5 separate regions of the Homo sapiens genome follow, and regions 1, 2, 4 and 5 are each linked to region 3. Evidence: promoter capture Hi-C in 16 types of primary human blood cells and fetal thymus (Javierre and others, 2016). All regions are on one chromosome and are shown on one strand. The core of a region is centred on a gene start or on the middle of the fragment in contact, and the rest is flanking DNA. Distances in the headings are between cores, read along the strand shown. Region 1 holds the start of PNMA3 (PNMA family member 3). Region 2 has its middle 6.1 kb from the start of PNMA5. Region 3 holds the start of CCNQ (cyclin Q). Region 4 has its middle 13 kb from the start of PNMA5. Region 5 has its middle 18 kb from the start of PNMA3.

Evidence for each region. Contacts are between HindIII fragments. The CHiCAGO score rates a contact against its expected background, and 5 or more counts as called.
Region 1: the fragment with the promoter of PNMA3 here is called in contact with the fragment with the promoter of CCNQ in region 3 in 4 of 17 cell types (M1 macrophages, non-activated CD4 T cells, naive CD4 T cells and 1 more); the score reaches 6.7 in M1 macrophages.
Region 2: a fragment that was not itself captured here is called in contact with the fragment with the promoter of CCNQ in region 3 in 7 of 17 cell types (naive CD8 T cells, total CD4 T cells, erythroblasts and 4 more); the score reaches 8.5 in naive CD8 T cells.
Region 4: a contact is called between a fragment that was not itself captured here and the fragment with the promoter of CCNQ in region 3, in 3 of 17 cell types (naive CD8 T cells, total CD4 T cells and naive CD4 T cells). The highest score is 7.7, in naive CD8 T cells.
Region 5: a fragment that was not itself captured here is called in contact with the fragment with the promoter of CCNQ in region 3 in 6 of 17 cell types (naive B cells, monocytes, activated CD4 T cells and 3 more); the score reaches 7.2 in naive B cells.

What each region holds. Positions count from the first base shown.
Region 1 is chrX:153,054,579-153,057,719 of GRCh38, reverse strand. It overlaps PNMA3 (PNMA family member 3), which reads right to left and starts at 1,250. Exons shown (of 2, transcript NM_013364.6): 1 at 1,082-1,250; 2 at 1-770. The coding sequence starts at 664. The HindIII fragment of the contact is 3,087 bases long and covers 1-2,823 here.
Region 2 is chrX:152,998,572-153,001,878 of GRCh38, reverse strand. No RefSeq gene overlaps it. Among named protein-coding and RNA genes, the nearest start is that of PNMA5, 6.1 kb to the right of the region's middle. The HindIII fragment of the contact is 1,075 bases long and covers 1,357-2,431 here.
Region 3 is chrX:153,597,274-153,600,555 of GRCh38, reverse strand. It overlaps CCNQ (cyclin Q), which reads left to right and starts at 1,417. Exons shown (of 5, transcript NM_152274.5): 1 at 1,417-1,594. The coding sequence starts at 1,483. It overlaps LOC105373383 (a long non-coding RNA gene), which reads right to left and starts at 1,216. Exons shown (of 1, transcript NR_131982.1): 1 at 663-1,216. RefSeq lists silencers at 1,047-1,186, 1,287-1,336, 1,347-1,706. The HindIII fragment of the contact is 8,000 bases long and covers 1-2,705 here.
Region 4 is chrX:152,979,075-152,982,502 of GRCh38, reverse strand. No RefSeq gene overlaps it. Among named protein-coding and RNA genes, the nearest start is that of PNMA5, 13 kb to the left of the region's middle. The HindIII fragment of the contact is 5,734 bases long and covers 1-3,428 here.
Region 5 is chrX:153,037,182-153,040,534 of GRCh38, reverse strand. No RefSeq gene overlaps it. Among named protein-coding and RNA genes, the nearest start is that of PNMA3, 18 kb to the left of the region's middle. The HindIII fragment of the contact is 2,461 bases long and covers 798-3,258 here.

The DNA.
Region 1 (3,141 bases), core at 1-2,500, 540 kb after region 3:
CCCGGAGCCCACTGACCACCTGGAGAGCAGGGCCCCGTAAGCATTCCATCAGCCTCCGCCTCTTTTCCCCCTCGGGCACCTGCCACATCTGTAGCATCTCAGTGGTGTGCTCAAGCCAGGCATCAAAGGCCAGTGCACCTGGGATGGATATGGTGTTCCCAGAAAACACTCTTAGTTCTCGGTACAACATTTGTTCTAGCAGAGGCTGCACTGCTGCCCCCAGAGTCTGGGCCCAGGTCCAGAACTCTGGTGATATAGTCACTCTTGGAGCCGAACAATTGGTGTCCGACCCGAGGACTCGGTTCATATCTGACACGGTCCGCCTCTCCTCCTCTAAGAAGCGGTTCAGTCTGTTGAGAAATTCCCCATCTGAGTTACGGGGTTTTACAATCACTTCCCAGGGCCCCCCCTTTCCTGGTATTTCCCTTGGGAGCAAAGCATAGTCGATATCTTGTGCCAGCTCCAGTAGAATCGCCTGGGCGTTCTCCTCCCTCCTAAACATCCTGCCAATCACCCTGTATCTGCCCAGGTGCCTGCAAGCCTCCTGGAGTGTCTCCTCAAACTCATCCTCGCCACAGTCCTCGGGGATCCCCAGGATGAGCATGCACCTCCGGGTGTTCAGGTGTTCCCCCCGACACCAGTCCTGTAACAAGGTCAACGGCATGTCCTCGAATCTCTGCGGATACTAATTTGGGGGGAGTGATCAGGGCGTGAGGCACATATCTGGATCAACTCCTAGGGTGATCGCAGAAGGCCCAGGTCTCCACAGCCTGTGAATGCGAGCAGGGCGAGAGCGAGGTTAATGCCCACCTCTCCGCACGCCCACATCCACGCCCACCCCCACCCCCACCCCCAGCCGCCCTCCTCCCCGGGCGGCGCCTCTGCAGCCAGGCCCCGCCCCTGCCCAGCCCCCCACCCCCACCCCCCGTGGGGTCTCTGCGGGCCTCAGCCCCCTCCCCGCGCTGCCCCAGGACCCTGGACCCCTGCCCTGCAGGCTGCTTCAGTTCTGATAGGGCGGACAGGCGAGGGGCGGCGGAGTCTCCCGGGGCCCAGCGTCTCCCTCCCCAGGTGGGTCTGTTACCTTCTCCCAGGGCAAGGTCCCTTCTGGTCGGGGTCCCCAGAGGGCTCTCCGGGGGCTATGCGCGGCGGCGGCGGCGGCGGCGGACGGGGGTCGGGCACCCCTGGCTCCCAGCGCGGACGTTCGCTCAGACTGTGGCTCTCCCTCGCTCGCGCAGCACGTGGGCCAGTGCGCCGGCGCCTGCTCGCCGCGGCTCTCTGCAGTGCGGACACGGGGCGGGGGCGCGGCGGCGGTGCAGCGCGGACCCCTCCGCGTCGTCCGGGAGACCGCAGGGCCATTGGCGCGGACGGGTCACGAGGTCGGGCTCTCGCCGCCGCCCCTGGGGGCCCCAGGTCCCCGGGTGACGTCACCTGCTCCTCTCCCCTAGCCCCCCCGCCACGGGGGCCCCCGGGCCCCCGGGCACACAAGCGCCCGCCCACCCCCATCCCCACTGCGGTGGCCAAAGGTCTGTGGCGGCCAGTCCCCGTGCCTTTGGCTCTCACCACAGCGGTTCCTGGTCCCGGCTCCTGCCCCTCCCGCACGTGCCACGGAGGTGCCAGCGGGGCGAGGGGTCTGCACCCCGGCGTGCCCACCAGAGGGCCAGGGAGTGGTCTGAGGTGCGCCAGGCAGCTCTGCATTATGGCCAGGGTCAGGGAGCCGGGTTCTGGGGCCTGTTCACCTGCTCTTGTCCTCCCCCTCCCCGTCCAGGACTGGTCCTCTGGCTGGCGAGGCCAGGGGCACCTGGTGCGGGTGCCATTCCGTGCAGGAGATGCCCCAGGCACTCATGCAGGTCACGCACACCACCCCAAGGAGGGTCAGCCATCTCCCCGCTGTCCATCCCGCTGCTGGGACCTGAGGCCCTCCGGCCAAAGCGCTTCGCTGCCCAGGTGCCAGTGGACAGGTTTACCGGGACCTTTCCGGTTTTGTGCGCTGCAAATCTAGTGACTTGGGAAACCACTTCCAGGACTTGGAGCCCAATCCCTTGGGCCTGCCCTTCCTTGGCAGCCGTGCGCCGTGGGTTCTATTGTATCCGTTTGATCCCAGGGCAGCAGCCAAATGAAGAAGGGAGTGACTGTCCCTCAGGCAGTGGGCCCAGGTGTTCTGTGGGTCCTGCCTGCTCTGCCAGCCGCATGCTCAACTCCTATTCACACAGCTTCAGCTCCTCTCCAAACACAACGAAAAGGGGCTTGTGGTTGATTTTCAGGCCAGGTTCACCCATCCAGCCAAGTCTGGGAGGCCACCTTGCAGTGAGTGGGGCACAAAACTGTCCACTGACTTCCTGCCCCACCCTGAGTTCTGCTCGTCAGCCTGGCACTTGTCAGGGACCAAGAAGAAATGGCCCCAAGGGCTTTTTCCTGGTCAGACAGAATTCCTGAAACATCTTTACAGGAGTTATTTCATTTGCTCCTCACCAGAACTCTGAAGCAGGTATTAACATTATCCTGATTTGACTCATGAGGCTCAGAGAGATTAAGAGACATTTTCAAGGTCACACACCGTATTGAAGGTAGAATTGAGACTGGATTCTAAATTAGTGCCCATCAGTCTTTGGGTAGAATTGGGACTATTTCTCCCCTGGTTGCTTCATGCCTATTAGAATTTATTTCTCTCATTTTTGTCCATTCACAGTCCCTTGCTTTGTCACTCCAAGGGCTCAACCAGCTTCAAACTGAACCTTCATCTGCCCAACTTGCAGGGGTGGAAACAGAGGTTCAGAGAAGGGACACTACTGGCCCAAGGTCACACAGTGAGTAAATGACAAAGCTTGAGATGTCAAGGGGAGATGCCAAGTATTCATGCCAAGGCAGAGGGGCGTGTCTGGAATGTCTCCGGAAAGAAGCCTGTGAAGTTCCCAGACAGACGCAGTGATCTGTGGATGTTCTGGGCATTGGGAAAAAAGGATTTGGAAACACTGGTATCAAGACAATAGATGTGAATATGTCCAATTTGAAAAGTTTTAGAACTCCTTTATATTGGAGTTAACCTTTGCCCTTGAAACCAGTGGAAATGTCTTAATTACTTTTGCTTCCCCATCTCCTTGCATGGTAGATAACACAGCAGCACCAAAGTTGGGGAACTGATGG
Region 2 (3,307 bases), core at 645-3,144, 600 kb after region 3:
CAACAAAGATGCCTGTTTTTCCATCCTCTGTTGCTCTTTATGATCCAATGCTTGATCTCAGTTTTTGAACACCTTAAAAGCAATCTATACAGTTAAGAGATAGACATTCCAAAAACACTTTCTAATTTTTATAGCTTTTTCTGAATGCCAGGAGTGCTTTGACTAATAAAAGTTATGTTAATTAATCTGAGGTTCTCAGGGGCCTCAGGATCTATCTCAGTTGACATTGCCAGGAGGCTTCAAAAATTATCTCCAAAAACTTTCAGATGAGTTTTCATTTGGCCTCTGTCACATTTCCTGAAATTTATTAAAGCTACACTACTTTGAGACCCCTTTCCTCAGGACTGCTAAAATTCAATCTCTTTAATGCTTGCAATGAGCTTGACTCTCATGATTTGGATCCTATCAGGATCTTGCACATGCCAGAATGCCCAGTCCCTTCGTTGGGACAGGACGTGTTAACTAAGTTAATTGCCACAGTAACCTTTGCTCTGGGAAAATTGGACATTGAGGTGCCACCAGAACAAGCATGTGAGCTCCAAGATGCCCTTTTTGACCACGGAGCAGGAAAACACACCACCAATATTATTGAGAACATCTTAAAGCCCAGACACTTGGGCCAATGGGAGGCTGGGAGGAGCTAAGACTGCTTGTGTTAGGCTATAGCCTCAGCAGTAGCTGCCCAGACCAGATTGCTGGCAGTCTCAGTATGTTACTGGTCAGCTTCTTCTCTAGCTTTTTCTAAAACTATTCTCCACTCTTTGGAGGTAAGTAGTGCATTTTGTAAATATTGCACATTCTCCCAGTTAGGATTATGAGTAGTGTAAATGGAGAACACATTTTCCATCCTCCTTGGGTCACCCCAGTAGGTAAGCATGTTATCCTTCCAATGGTATAGGTCAGAGACTGAGAATGGCACGTGTACCCACACAGGTCCCGCTGGCTGACCCTGGGCATTGATTCTGCCAATGGGTACTTGCCTAATGGAATTGCCCTACCTCAACCAGAGTGGCTCCCTGACGATATTGAGTGCCCTGTCAGGTGTGTGAAGGAGAGAGCACTCCTGGCCTGTTTACGTCACTATTATTCCCCAGTCCAGCCAGGGTAATAGGGGCTCCCATTCCTGCCTGAGCAGGGGGGCGGGGCCATTGCTCTGGCTTCCATATCTCGCCCCCCATAAGGTGGAGAGATAGGATTGGTGCATTCATTTGTTGAAGTAGTAAGTCATCTTCTGATTTTTGAGAACCGGGTAAAACCTTTACCTCTTTCACCTTAGAGGCATTTCTTTCAACCATGATTCTATGCAAATTATACCTTCTTTGAATTAGCTCACTTTGGTACAAAAGCATAAAAGCTTGTACATTCAGAATTTCATCCCATTTACCTTCTTGTTCACAAAACAATTCTAATTGAAAAATTATAATGTAATTTAGATATCTAAATTCTGGCTACCATTCCCTGGATCCTAGGGGATACCGTGGTCAGGCAGAATTTCAACATTAAAAACATTTTTCTTTTTCATGGGCTCAAAGCTAAAAATGGCCCGATTCTGCAGAATGCACCATAATGGGCTACAAGGAGGAACATAATTTGTAGTTTCCATTTTAGATGACAAGACCTTAGGTGAAAAACCCTTAATGCCTCAGCTGGGCTTTAGGCAGATTGTCAAGCAAGCAAATCAAAATCAAAATGTGATTTCTCAAAGTCTCCATCCCTTCAGTTGCTTATGGAGTATTCCCTACTAAACACACTATGATGAAGCAGAGTCCCGTAAATTGCCAAAGCAAGGCCAGATGTCCTGCCAATGCAGAACGTAGTGTTTGAAGAAAATATACCTTGGGGCTATTGCCCACAAATTTGTCACCTGCCAAAAAATGTCTTCCCAGCCAAGTGTCTCATTTCTAATGCTGCAAAAGTAAAAGCAACACAAGCCAGTGATGCCTTGGTGGCAGCCAAATACACAGATCCATCCCTGAATAAAATAATTCAGGCAGCTACTGGACAGGGTCCAAGGGTGCTCATAGCCAGGGGCTGATATGCTATTGGCAAGACACCCACTCAGGGCTTTTGAGTTGTGGCCAAGTGTTATTGAACTGAACTGGAGTTGTCTTGCCCATCACAGTAAGATCAGATATCCACACTGAGGTTTGCAGTGGTGGAAAGGAAGACATTTATTTGCAGGGCACTAAGCAAGGAGGATCAGGCAGCTAACGCTCAAATCCAGAGCTCCGTGATGGCTTGCAGGTAAGGGCTTTTAAAGGTAGGAGTAAATTTCAGGAAAGCAGAAGTTACAGGCTAATTCATAAATCATTACACAGAGGTTACCCATTGGTTTTGGCCTAAAAGGGTGGGATATCTTGAAGTGAGGGCTTACAGGCCATAAGTAGGTTCAAAGGTCTTTTGGTTTGCAGTTGGTTAAGCAAGAGAAGCTTTGTTTAAAATTTTTGGGTCAGCAGAAAAGAATATTAGCTCTGACAGATGGATGTGATTTCCTCCAGGCCCCTCATGAAGAAGTTTGGAACAAAGAGTGGTGGTCAGAGTTCAGTCCTCAGCTCCCCCTTTTCTGGGGTCTGCATGCCAGCTGATCAGTTTGGTGGGGATCCAAGTTTCTGAAAAACAACTCAGAGATATATGTTAACATGTTATCTTTAGTTTCTATAGGGAAAGAAAACATCCTGTGATTGTAGCTTCCTTGGCTGTTGTTTTAAGCTATTACCTTCTTGCTTATCAACTTGCTTATTTACTTCTCAGGGCTAGCTAGGTGCCTGGCATTGCCCCTGAAAGAACTCAACATTTTCCTTTATTTATATGCTTAAGGGGGCCTGCAGACCCCTGAGACGGGGTCCCTGCTCCATCTCACTTTCCTCATTGTGTATTCTTGGCAGCTTTGTTGAAAATTAATTGTCCATGTATGCTACTGTATGATCCAGCAATTCCACTATGGATAGATATCCTAAGCAAATAAAATCACTATCTCTAAGTGGTATCTGGACTCTCTTGTCCATTTCAGCATTATTCACAATAGCTAAGATAAGAAAACAACCTAAGTGACCACTGACAGATGAATGGATAAAGAAAATGTTTTTTATATATCTATATTATATATATTATATATAATATATATAATATATTATATATAAATGTCTTATATATATTTTTATATAATATTTAATATATAATATAATATATATTATATAATATATATTTTATATATTATATATATTATATATTATATATATATTATATATAATATATATAATATATATTTATATATATTTTATATATAATATATATAACATATATTTAT
Region 3 (3,282 bases), core at 168-2,667:
CTGGATTATCTAGGTAGGCCCTAATCCAGTGACAGGTGTGCTTATAAGAGACAGACGAGAAGACAGGGAGAAGGCCATGTAGAGACGGAGGCACAGATTGGAGTGATGGGGCCACAAGCCCAGGAAGAACTCAGGCTGCAGAAGCTGGAAGAGCAAGGAAGAACTGATCCTCTGCCAGAGCCTTTGAGGGAGCAAAGCCCTAGTGTCACCTCCATTTCAGGTGTCTGGCCTCCAGAATTGAGAGAGGATATACTTCTGCTGTTTTTAGCAACCCAATTTGTGGTCATTTGTTACAGCAGCCCCAGGAAACTAACCCAGCTGGGATGGAGAGAGGACTTGGGGAGGCTGGTGGAGGCAGGAAGTGCTGAGGAAGGAGAATGAGGCCGGACTGGGTGTGTGGGGTGGGGGTAAGAGGTGGAGACTTCCACACCATCAGGAGATCAAGGCGCCTGGGCAGAAGGGTTTAGGGAGCAGTAGCTTTTTCCTCTCCATATTGCCAGCTGTCTGAAATTGTAGCAATGATCTGAATGTATCAGAATGACTCCAGTGACTGTCACTAACTTGGGAGTGAGTACCTTTGGGGTTCTATGTCCCTAAAGCCTGATGCACCATTTCCTGCTTGTGGAAGACGCGAATGAAAAATGAGATGGTAAATACCTGAGTTCGATATTCAGCATTCATTCAGCAAACATTTATTAGGCTCCTACTGTGCGTCGCGCTGGAAAGGCAAGCAGAAGCTAGATTCCCAATCGATCCCGGGAGGCTGGACGATCCAGACACAAACACCGTTCATGCGTCTATTCGAAAAGGCCCTCTTGGAATTTTGTGCACAGCATTTCCTTGGGGTGTCGATGGATCGGGGTCTGCAAACATTAGCACCTTTTCCGGTGGCCGCTGTCTTCTCAGACCTCAGACACCGGCGCCTCCCCGTGAACTCCCGCAGGCGTCCCTAGCCCAGGGCTTGGCGGGCGCTGCCGGTTGTACCTGGCCTAAGCCACGCTGGGCCGACAGCCCGGGGCGACACCCCCTTCGGACGGCGGGGATTTGCGGCTCGGGTGACCGGAGGTGCCCTCCCGCGGGTCTCGGAGCAGCTCCGCGGGCTCTCGCTCCGCGGGGAGGAGCCTGCGTCTCCCAGGGGCGGGGCTCGAGGCGCCTAGGGGCCGGTGGACACATACCAGCCGCCCCGTGGTGTCGGCCTCTGCGCCTGCGCCTGCGCCTGCGCGCGCGGCCAGGCAGCGTCTGTGGCGCAAGCGCGCGCTCACCCTTGGGCGAGGGCCCTGAGGGGCGGGGCGGGGCGGAGGAGCGGCGGGGCGGCGAGGGGCGGGGCGGGGCGGCGAGGGGCGGGGCGGGGCGGCGAGGGGCGGGGCGGGGCGGGGCCGGACGCGGCCGGGTGGGGCGGCAGCGCCCGCCGCGAGCACCTCCAGTTCTGCCGGCTTCTGCGCGCCGGGGCCGCCTCTCCTTCCGCCGGTGCCGCGGCGCCTCATGGAAGCCCCGGAGGGCGGCGGAGGGGGGCCTGCAGCGCGGGGCCCGGAGGGGCAGCCGGCGCCCGAAGCCAGGGTGCACTTCCGAGTGGCGAGGTTCATCATGGAGGCAGGTAACCGCGGCCGGGGGAGGCCAGGACAGGCGGCGCCGCGGCCCGCTTCGCGGAGCGGGCCCGGCTGGCCAGGCCGGCCTTCTGGAGTGCTCACCGTAGCAGAGGCCGGGAAGCCCTGCTCGGGGCTGAGGACCTCCGCCTTTGCGCCGCGCCCGGTGTGCTGAGCAGTGAGCCGCGAGGTATCCCCATGGCGTGGACCGGTGTGCAGGCCCTAGGAGAGGACGTGGCCGGGTTGGGCCTCCAGCGAGGCGGAGACCGGCCCGGGCGCCCGCAGCTCTGCGCAGTGCGCCACGCCTTCTGCCGGCACCCGCGGCCCTGCACTCCGGTAGACTTTATGGCGCTTAGTCGCGCGGAGCCTTTTGGAGAACGCTGTCCGAGGGTTCCTGTCACTCCGGGGACCTAGGCTGCTTGCAGCTCCTGTTCCGAACCCTGCCAGGACATCCACAGTAGTGTTGGGCTCCGCGCTTCCCAGGCGAGGTGATTAAGCTAAGATCTCTGTAGAAACATCGTTTCCATCCAGCCATCAACAGTATTTTTTTTTTTTTCGAGACGGAGTCTCGCTCTGTTGGCCAGGCTGGAGTGCAGTGGCGTGATCTCGGCTCACTGCAACCTCCGTCTCCCGGACTAAAGCAATTATCCTTCCTCACGCTTCCGAGTAGCTGGAATTACAGGTGTGTGCCACCGTACCCGGCTAATGTTTGTATTTTTAGTAGAGACGGGGTTTCACCATGTTGGCCAGGCTGGTCTTGAACTCCTGGCCTCAGGTGATCCAGTTGCCTCGCCCTCCCAAAGTGCTGGGATTACAGGCGTGAGCTACCTCGTCCGGCCCATCAACAGTATCTTGATAGGAGATACTGTTAGTTGGCGGGTAGTTATTTCCTACCTTTACTGCTTGGGGGAGAAGGGTTGGGCAGATGTGCTTTCTACCCAAGGTGGGCGGAGAGTCTGAGGACTGCTGCAGGACTGTTCATCCCAGTGATATGTAAATTTACTGTAATTTGCAAGAAGAGTTGCAAAGTTATTATTAGGGAAGGATGGCAGTGACACCTCATCTGCTACCGTCTGCTCGGAGGGTCCGTGTAAATTGGGGTTTGCTCTGTAAAACAAAGCTTGGAAGGTCATGTCAGTAACAGCACCTTATCTGGCATCTCCTGGAATGAGGGGTCCCAGGTAGGAATTGTCTTTATATAACAAGTTTAGACCTTCTGAGGGACTTCTTTATAAAATGTATTACACAATCCTTTGTCCTTTGTAGGAGGCTAAATATTGATTTCCCAAAGATGTCCCTATCCTAATCCCTGGAACCTGTGAATGTCATCTTATATAGCAAAAGAGATTTTGAAGATGTGATTAGAGACCTTAAGATGGGAGATCATCCTAGATTATCTGGGTGTAACCACACCCATCCTTATAAGGCAAAGGCAGGAGGAGTCACCGTCAGAGAAGGCCACGTGAGGACAGAAGCAGAGTTAGAAGCTTTGAAGATGGAGGAAGGGGCCAGCAACCAAGGAATGCAGCCCTCCTCTAGAAGCTGGAAAAGGCAAGGAAACATTCTCCCATGGAGCCTCCAGAAGGAGCCAGCCCTGCTTAGACGTTGATCTTAGCTTTCTAGGCTAGTTTTGGACTTCTGACTTCCAGGATCGGAGGAGTATAAATGTGTGTTGTTTAAGTGGCTGAATTTGTGGTGA
Region 4 (3,428 bases), core at 695-3,194, 620 kb after region 3:
AATCCCCCCATCCCTCAGTGTTCCAGAAAATGACTTATTGCAAACAAAAAAACAAACAAAACAACAAAAACACTGTTATGGGTGGGCTGAATTTTATTTCCCCCCAAAATCCATATGCTGAAGTCCTAACTCCAGTACCTCAGAATGTGGCCTTGTTTAGAGATAGTCTTTAAAAAGGTAATTAAAGTTAAATGAAGGCATTATGGTGGGCCCCATTACAATATGACAGGTGTCCCTATAGGAAGAAGAAATTTGGACACACAGACAAGGAAGATAATGTGAAGTAAAACAGGAAGAAGATGGCCACCTACAAGCAAAAAAGAGAGGCTTGGAACAGATTCTTCCCTCACAGCCCTCAGAAGGAACCAAGCCTGTTGACACCTTGGTCTTGGACTCCTGGCATCCAAAACTGTGAGAGAATAAATTTCTGTTGTTTAAGACTTTCGTTTTGTAGTACTTTGTTATGACAGGCCTGGGAAACTAACACAATACCCCTTCCCCATAAGACTTAGTTAGGACTCAGGAATGCTCTCCTTGTTTACCTATGACACGGACAGACACAAACCCTCCAAATTCCCATTTGCATTAATCAGAGCACTCCAGAAAAGCAAAACCAGTAGGAGCTGATAGATATATTATTTTGGGAATTGGCACACATGATTATGGAGGCCAACAAATTCTATGATATGCCATCTGCAAGCTGTAGAATAGAGAAAGATGGTGGAATAATTCAGTCCAAGTTCAAAGGCCTGAGATCCAGGGGAGTTTATGGTGTTACTTCTAATCCAAAGCTAAAGGAGTGGGGAGCGCGGCCCATTGGTGTACACCTTGGAGTCTGAAAGCCTTAGATCCAGGAGCTCTGATGTCTGAGGACAGGAGAAGATAGATGTTTCAGCTCAAGAAGAGAGAGAAAGAGAGAATGAGCGAGCGAGAGAGAGAGAGAGAGCGAGAGAAAGAATTTGCTCTCCCTCCATCTTTTTGTTCTATTTGGCCCCTCAAACAACTGGATGATGCCTTCCTACACTGGTGAGGGTGATCTTTATTCATTGTACTGATAGAAATGCTATCTCTCCTGGAAACACCCTCACAGACACACCCAGAAATAATGTTTTTACCAGCTATCTGAGCATCCCTTATCCCAGTCAAGTTGACACATACAATTAACTAGCACATCCCTCTACCTCTCACTCTGTTCTTCTGTTCCACTTCATGGCAAAGCTCAGACTTGTCTATGCCTACCACCCACACTTTCTCAGCTCCCATGCTCTCCTTGATTCTCTGAAACACTGGTTTCACCCATTCTGCTACTGAAAGGACTCAACAAAGTGACCAAACAACCTCAATCTTGATGAATCCAAAGGTCAATTCTCTGTCCTCATCTTATTTACACCAACATCTCAGTAGATTTTGACCCAGGTGACTATTCTTCCCTCATGAAGCACTTTTTCCCCTTGGCTCCTGGGATACCACATGCTTCGGGTTTCCTCCTACTTCACTGGCCTCTCCTGATAGAGTTTTCTGATTCCTCCTTCTCTGCTTGATTCTCCGCAGGACTCAGTGCCCTGGGTCCTCTTCTCTTTACTATCTACATTCACTTCCTTGGTGATCTCAGCCTGTCCATGCTTTCATTATCATTGGCAGGCTGCTTCTAAGCCCAGTTCCCTCTTAAGCTCTAGGCTTATATGTCAAAGTGCCTAACCCACATCTCCACTTGGGCAACAGAACATCTCAATACCAATTTTCCTAACACAAAACTCTGGCTCCCAAGCCACACCATTCAATCAGTGCCAAACTGCTCATAAGCTCACCCAAGATACTGGCATCACCATCTACCCAATTGCTCTGATTCCAAAACTAGACTCAGTTTGTCTTCTTCTCTTTCCCTCATAGATTCATATTCCATTATCAGCAAGTACTGCAGTTCTACTTCCAAATACATGTAAACTCCATCCACTTCTATCTCTACCACTGCCATCATTGTCCAGGCCACCGTCACTGATACTTGCAGTGCAATAGCCTCCTCTCTCTCTCCTCTTGCTCCTCTATAGTCCATTCTCCAAATATAACTCATAGTGATTTTTAAAAATCAGAAATCAAATGACATCATTTCTTTGCTCAGAAGCCATGGATGGCTTCCCATATCACTTAGACTAAAACTCAAACTTCTAACCATGGCCTGCAAACCCTACATGATCTGGCCCCCACTCTGCTGTGTGTTTACCACCCTCTAGCCCCGCTGGCTAGTCCCTCAAACACACCTGGCTCTTAATCTTATCTCAGGGCCTCTGCCCTTACTGGCCCCTCTACCTGGAAAACTTGTGGGAATGGAAATATTCTAGGCCTGTGCTGCCCAACAGGGTAGTCTCTAGCCATGTGTGGTTACTAGGCACTTGAAATGGAGCTAGTGTGACTGAGAAACTGGATTTTAAAAATGTATTTTAGTTGATTTCTATTTAAACACAAGTAGCCTAACGTGGGATGTGGAGACCATATTTAGCATGTGGAGACCAGAGCTCTAGCTCGTTCTGCTTTATAATTTTACAGAACTTGTCTGAAATCATCTATTTTATGCATTCATTTAGTCAACATTTACTGAGCACCTACTATGTGCAGGGCACTATTATAGGCACTGGGAATTCAGCAGTGGAGCAAAAGGACAAAAATCTCTCATGGAGATTTCATTTAAGTAAGGAAATACAAACAATAAAATAAGAAGAAAACATGTAGTATGTTAGATTGTGATAAGTGCTACAGAGAAAAAGCAAGGAAGCAGGTATAAGGAGTGTTATGGGTGTGCACAGAATTTTAAATTGGATGGTCCATGAAGGTGATCAGGAAGAAGGTAGCATCTGAGCAGAGATGTGAAGGACGCAAGGGAGATGGCCACGTGGGCATCTGGGAGATGAGCATTCCAGGCAGAAGAGACAACCAGCACACAGCTCAAGGCCAGAGAATGCCTGGAATGGTATGAGTAAGAAGGAAAGGTGGTGGGGGCTGGATAAAGCAGCACCTGCTTGGCCAGCCACCTTGAGGACTCTGGCTTTTAGTCCAAGTAAAATGAGGCCTGGGGAAGGTATGGAGCAGAAGAGGGATGTGATCGGATTGAAACTCTTCACTCTTGCAGCCATGCTGGGGTACACTTCAGGGTGGGAAGGAAGGAAAGATGATTGCTTAGGTTATTGTAATCATCCACATGGGGGATTAGGGGACAATATGTTTATGGTGAAGGTGGGGAGAAATGGTTTGCCTCTGGATCTGTTTGGCAGGGAGAGTTAACAGGCTAGGCTGATGGGCTGGAAGTGCAGTGGGAGATCAGCAGGTGATGTGTAGGTTTTGGTCTATGCAAGCTGAAGAATGGGACTGCCATTTACGGAGCTGTGGATGGCAATGCATAGAGCATGGCTTCCATGGTTGAGTATGAAATGACA
Region 5 (3,353 bases), core at 779-3,278, 560 kb after region 3:
ATGTTGCCTATTTTCACAGAACTTTAGCCCAAATCTGAGGACAAGAGGTGCTAAGTCCCTGTACGATCTACATTCTCAATGGAAACATCACACATTGTTTGTTATATAAATGAACCAAAGATGGCCTCTGTGTATTGGCCCCTATGTTTTTTATTTCTTCACTGAAGGCTGAGACCTGTTAGCTGAAAAGCTCACTGGTGCCCAACTCATATATTTACACGTCTGATTATTATGATTATTATTTGAGACGAAGTCTCACTCTGTCGCCCAAGCTGGAGTGCAGTGGCACGGTCTCGGCTCACTTCAACCTCCACCTCCTGGGCTCAAGCGATTCTACTGCCTCATTCTCCCAAGTTGCTGGGATTACAGGCACACACCACCACGCCCAGCTAATTTTTTGTATTTTAGTAGAGACAGGGTTTCACCACATTGCCCTGGGTGGTCTTGAACTCCCGAGCTCAGGCAATCTGCCCACCTCGGCCTCCCAGAATGCTGGGATTACAGGCATGAGCCACCGCACCCAGCCTGATTATTTTTAAAACATCCCAAATAAGCAGTTTTTTAGCCATTTAAAGCCTGCTTGCTTTGCATATGCAGAGACTCTCCAACGTGGTACCGATTGACCTCACCCAGACACATAAGCTCCCTCTTTGTTCCTCCTCTGCCCTGTGAGTCCCTTTGCCTTCCTTCCCTTCCAGGTGGTGGCCTCTTAGCCCATCCATAAACCTCTGGATAGTCTTGTGCTGTGAGGACTTTCCCTCTTATGCAACCCTGTCCAAGTGCCACCGAATAAAGCTTGTTGTGTTACTGCCCCTTGCAGTCATATCTTTTTCCTTGATCAGCCCTCAAATTCCTTCAACAAACTCCCTGAGTTTACTAAATGATGGCAAAGCCCATTCAGCAAACACCATTCCATCGAGGCTATTGAAGAGATTAAACATGTCAGAGGTTATTTTTAAAGGAAATTTTTAGGAGCAAAGAGTGCTTTGGCTTTTCTCCTACCCTCCCCAGGAGGGAGGATAAGGAGGCGCTGTCTCTAAAACCAAATCAAATGCATCAGTTCAGGTCCTCCAGGAAGTCAAGATGGAGTTAGAAGTGCAAAAAAATTATCACAGAAGATAAAGGGGAGAGGACACAGAAAGAGGCAGGAAGAACCTTCAGACCACAGGGCGGGTCTAACACAAGTGGAAAGAGAGGGAGAAGGAAGGATTGGAAGGAAGAGTCTCAGACAGTGGTGCAGCTTTCAAAAAGTCTTGGCCAGCCCAACGGGGAGCTCTGATGCAAAGATGGCCCATAGAGGAGTCCCACACTGAGCAAAAATGACCCTAGTACCCTGCTGTGCTAAGCCTCTGATAGGGAGCTGCCTGGAACTAGCATGGTCTCACCTCAAATGCTGCCTTGGACCCTGAAGACATTCCACCTGAATGCTGTCAACTAATTGCACTCCTCATAACAGGCCCTCTCTTAAAGTGACATCCAAGCAGTGCACTTCCATAGCTGCCACAGGCCATCCTTTGTGCCACACAGATCCACTACTCCATAGCTGCTCGGGAAGCAGTTCCTCCTTGGCTCCTGTGGGCCACTCTTTCTGAAGGTAAACTTAGAAGTTGGCAGTCGGGTGCGGTGGCTCATGCCTGTAATCCCAGCACTTTGGGAGGCCGAGGTGGGCAGATCACGAGGTCAGGAGATCAAGACCATCCTGGCTAACACGGTGAAATCCCGTCCCTACTAAAAATACAAAAAAAAAAAAAAAATTTAGCCAGGCATGGTGGCAGGCCTGTAGTCCCAGCTACTCGGGAGGCTGAGGCAGGAGAATGGTGTGAACCTGAGAGGCAGAGCTTGCAGTGAGCAGAGATCGCACCACTGCACTCCAGCCTGGGTGACAGAGTGAGACTCTGTCTCAAAAAAAAAAAAAAAAAAGAAAAAGAAGAAGAGAGAAGTTGGCGGGACAAAGTACAAGCCCCATCAGTGCAGTTGGTCCTGCAACTGCAACAGGTATTTATGATTACCCTCTTCCACTATCCATTCTAGATTTCCCTCACCCTCAACTATAACCTCTGCAGTTTTGGCAGCTTCCTTCATCCCTGAGTGGTCTGAGTCCCTCGTATCCATACCCTTCTTAGGCCACTCACACTGTACTTGATCACTTACAGCCAATGAGGCAAAAGAGTACCAAAAGTCACTAGAAAAGATCATCTGAGTCCCGAGCATATTCCTCTCTGCCTCTATTATATAACAGCAGTCTTACCTCTTCCTTGATAATTCTCTATTACTCCCACCACCATGATGATTCTTCCTGCTTGCTGGTGTCTGGAATCAAGGAACCCCAAAATGCCAGGCAGCAGTGGTGGCTATAAGTACAACTGGAACCCAGGCTGTATGTCCTGATAAGAGTGCAAAGAACCAGAACCTCTACCCTGCAGAGCCTAGATTTAAGGAGATGGGAAGCACAATGTTGGCCCCTGAGTAGGTCACTGGGAAAGATGGAAAGTGAGGCCACTTTGGCCTCCACCCTATGGCTTCCAGACCCATGTATTCTTCCTACTGGGGACACAGTGCCACATGGACATCTCTGACACAGTGCATATACTGCATCCTGGAGGATGGCGCCTCATCCTTGTAGGGTATTGCCTCTAAGCCTGTGCTCCAGCTACACCTCCAGAAGGCCATTCCAACACTCTATCAAGCTAGTAGCTTCTGGGTGGCACAGTGTGACACCAGACTATCCCATGCTCATGGGCTCATGCACATACCTCCTTCACTCTGAAGTGTGTCCCTTGGTAGGATACCTTCTTGTGTGGGATTCCAGGTCTGCAGGTCATGCACTCTGAAAGCCCCTGGATAGTGATGTTAGCTGAAGTTCTGCCAGGAGGAAAGGAAAACCCATACTCAGAATAGGTTTCTGTCCTTGTAAGAAAGAATGGATGTCTCTTCTAAGAGATAATGGACCCAACATGGAGAAATGGTGCCATATTGGGGTCTCAGCATTGGTCTCTTTCACTGGAAGACTGGACCTTCAGAGCTAGTAGCAGCAATAAAGGCCTTGTTAAGTAGGATTCCATGCTTCTGGGCCCGTGAGCAGTCTCCATCTCTCACACTGTGGCCCATCTGTTTATGTGCCCATTGTGTCAGTTCTGGACTGGCTGATGGTGAAGGGTGGCTAATATCCAACTTGCTGAGTCATTTTGTGCACTTGACAGTTCAGCTCCTCTTCTACTGTTGATGCTTTCTGGTGGGCACTTGTATGTGACGTAAGCTTTTCCTTCATGCTCACTCCCATGTTTATCCATATGCCTCTACCCCAGACTTCCTTGTCTCCAGTTTTCCAGTCCTTTCCTTTTTAGACCTTTGGC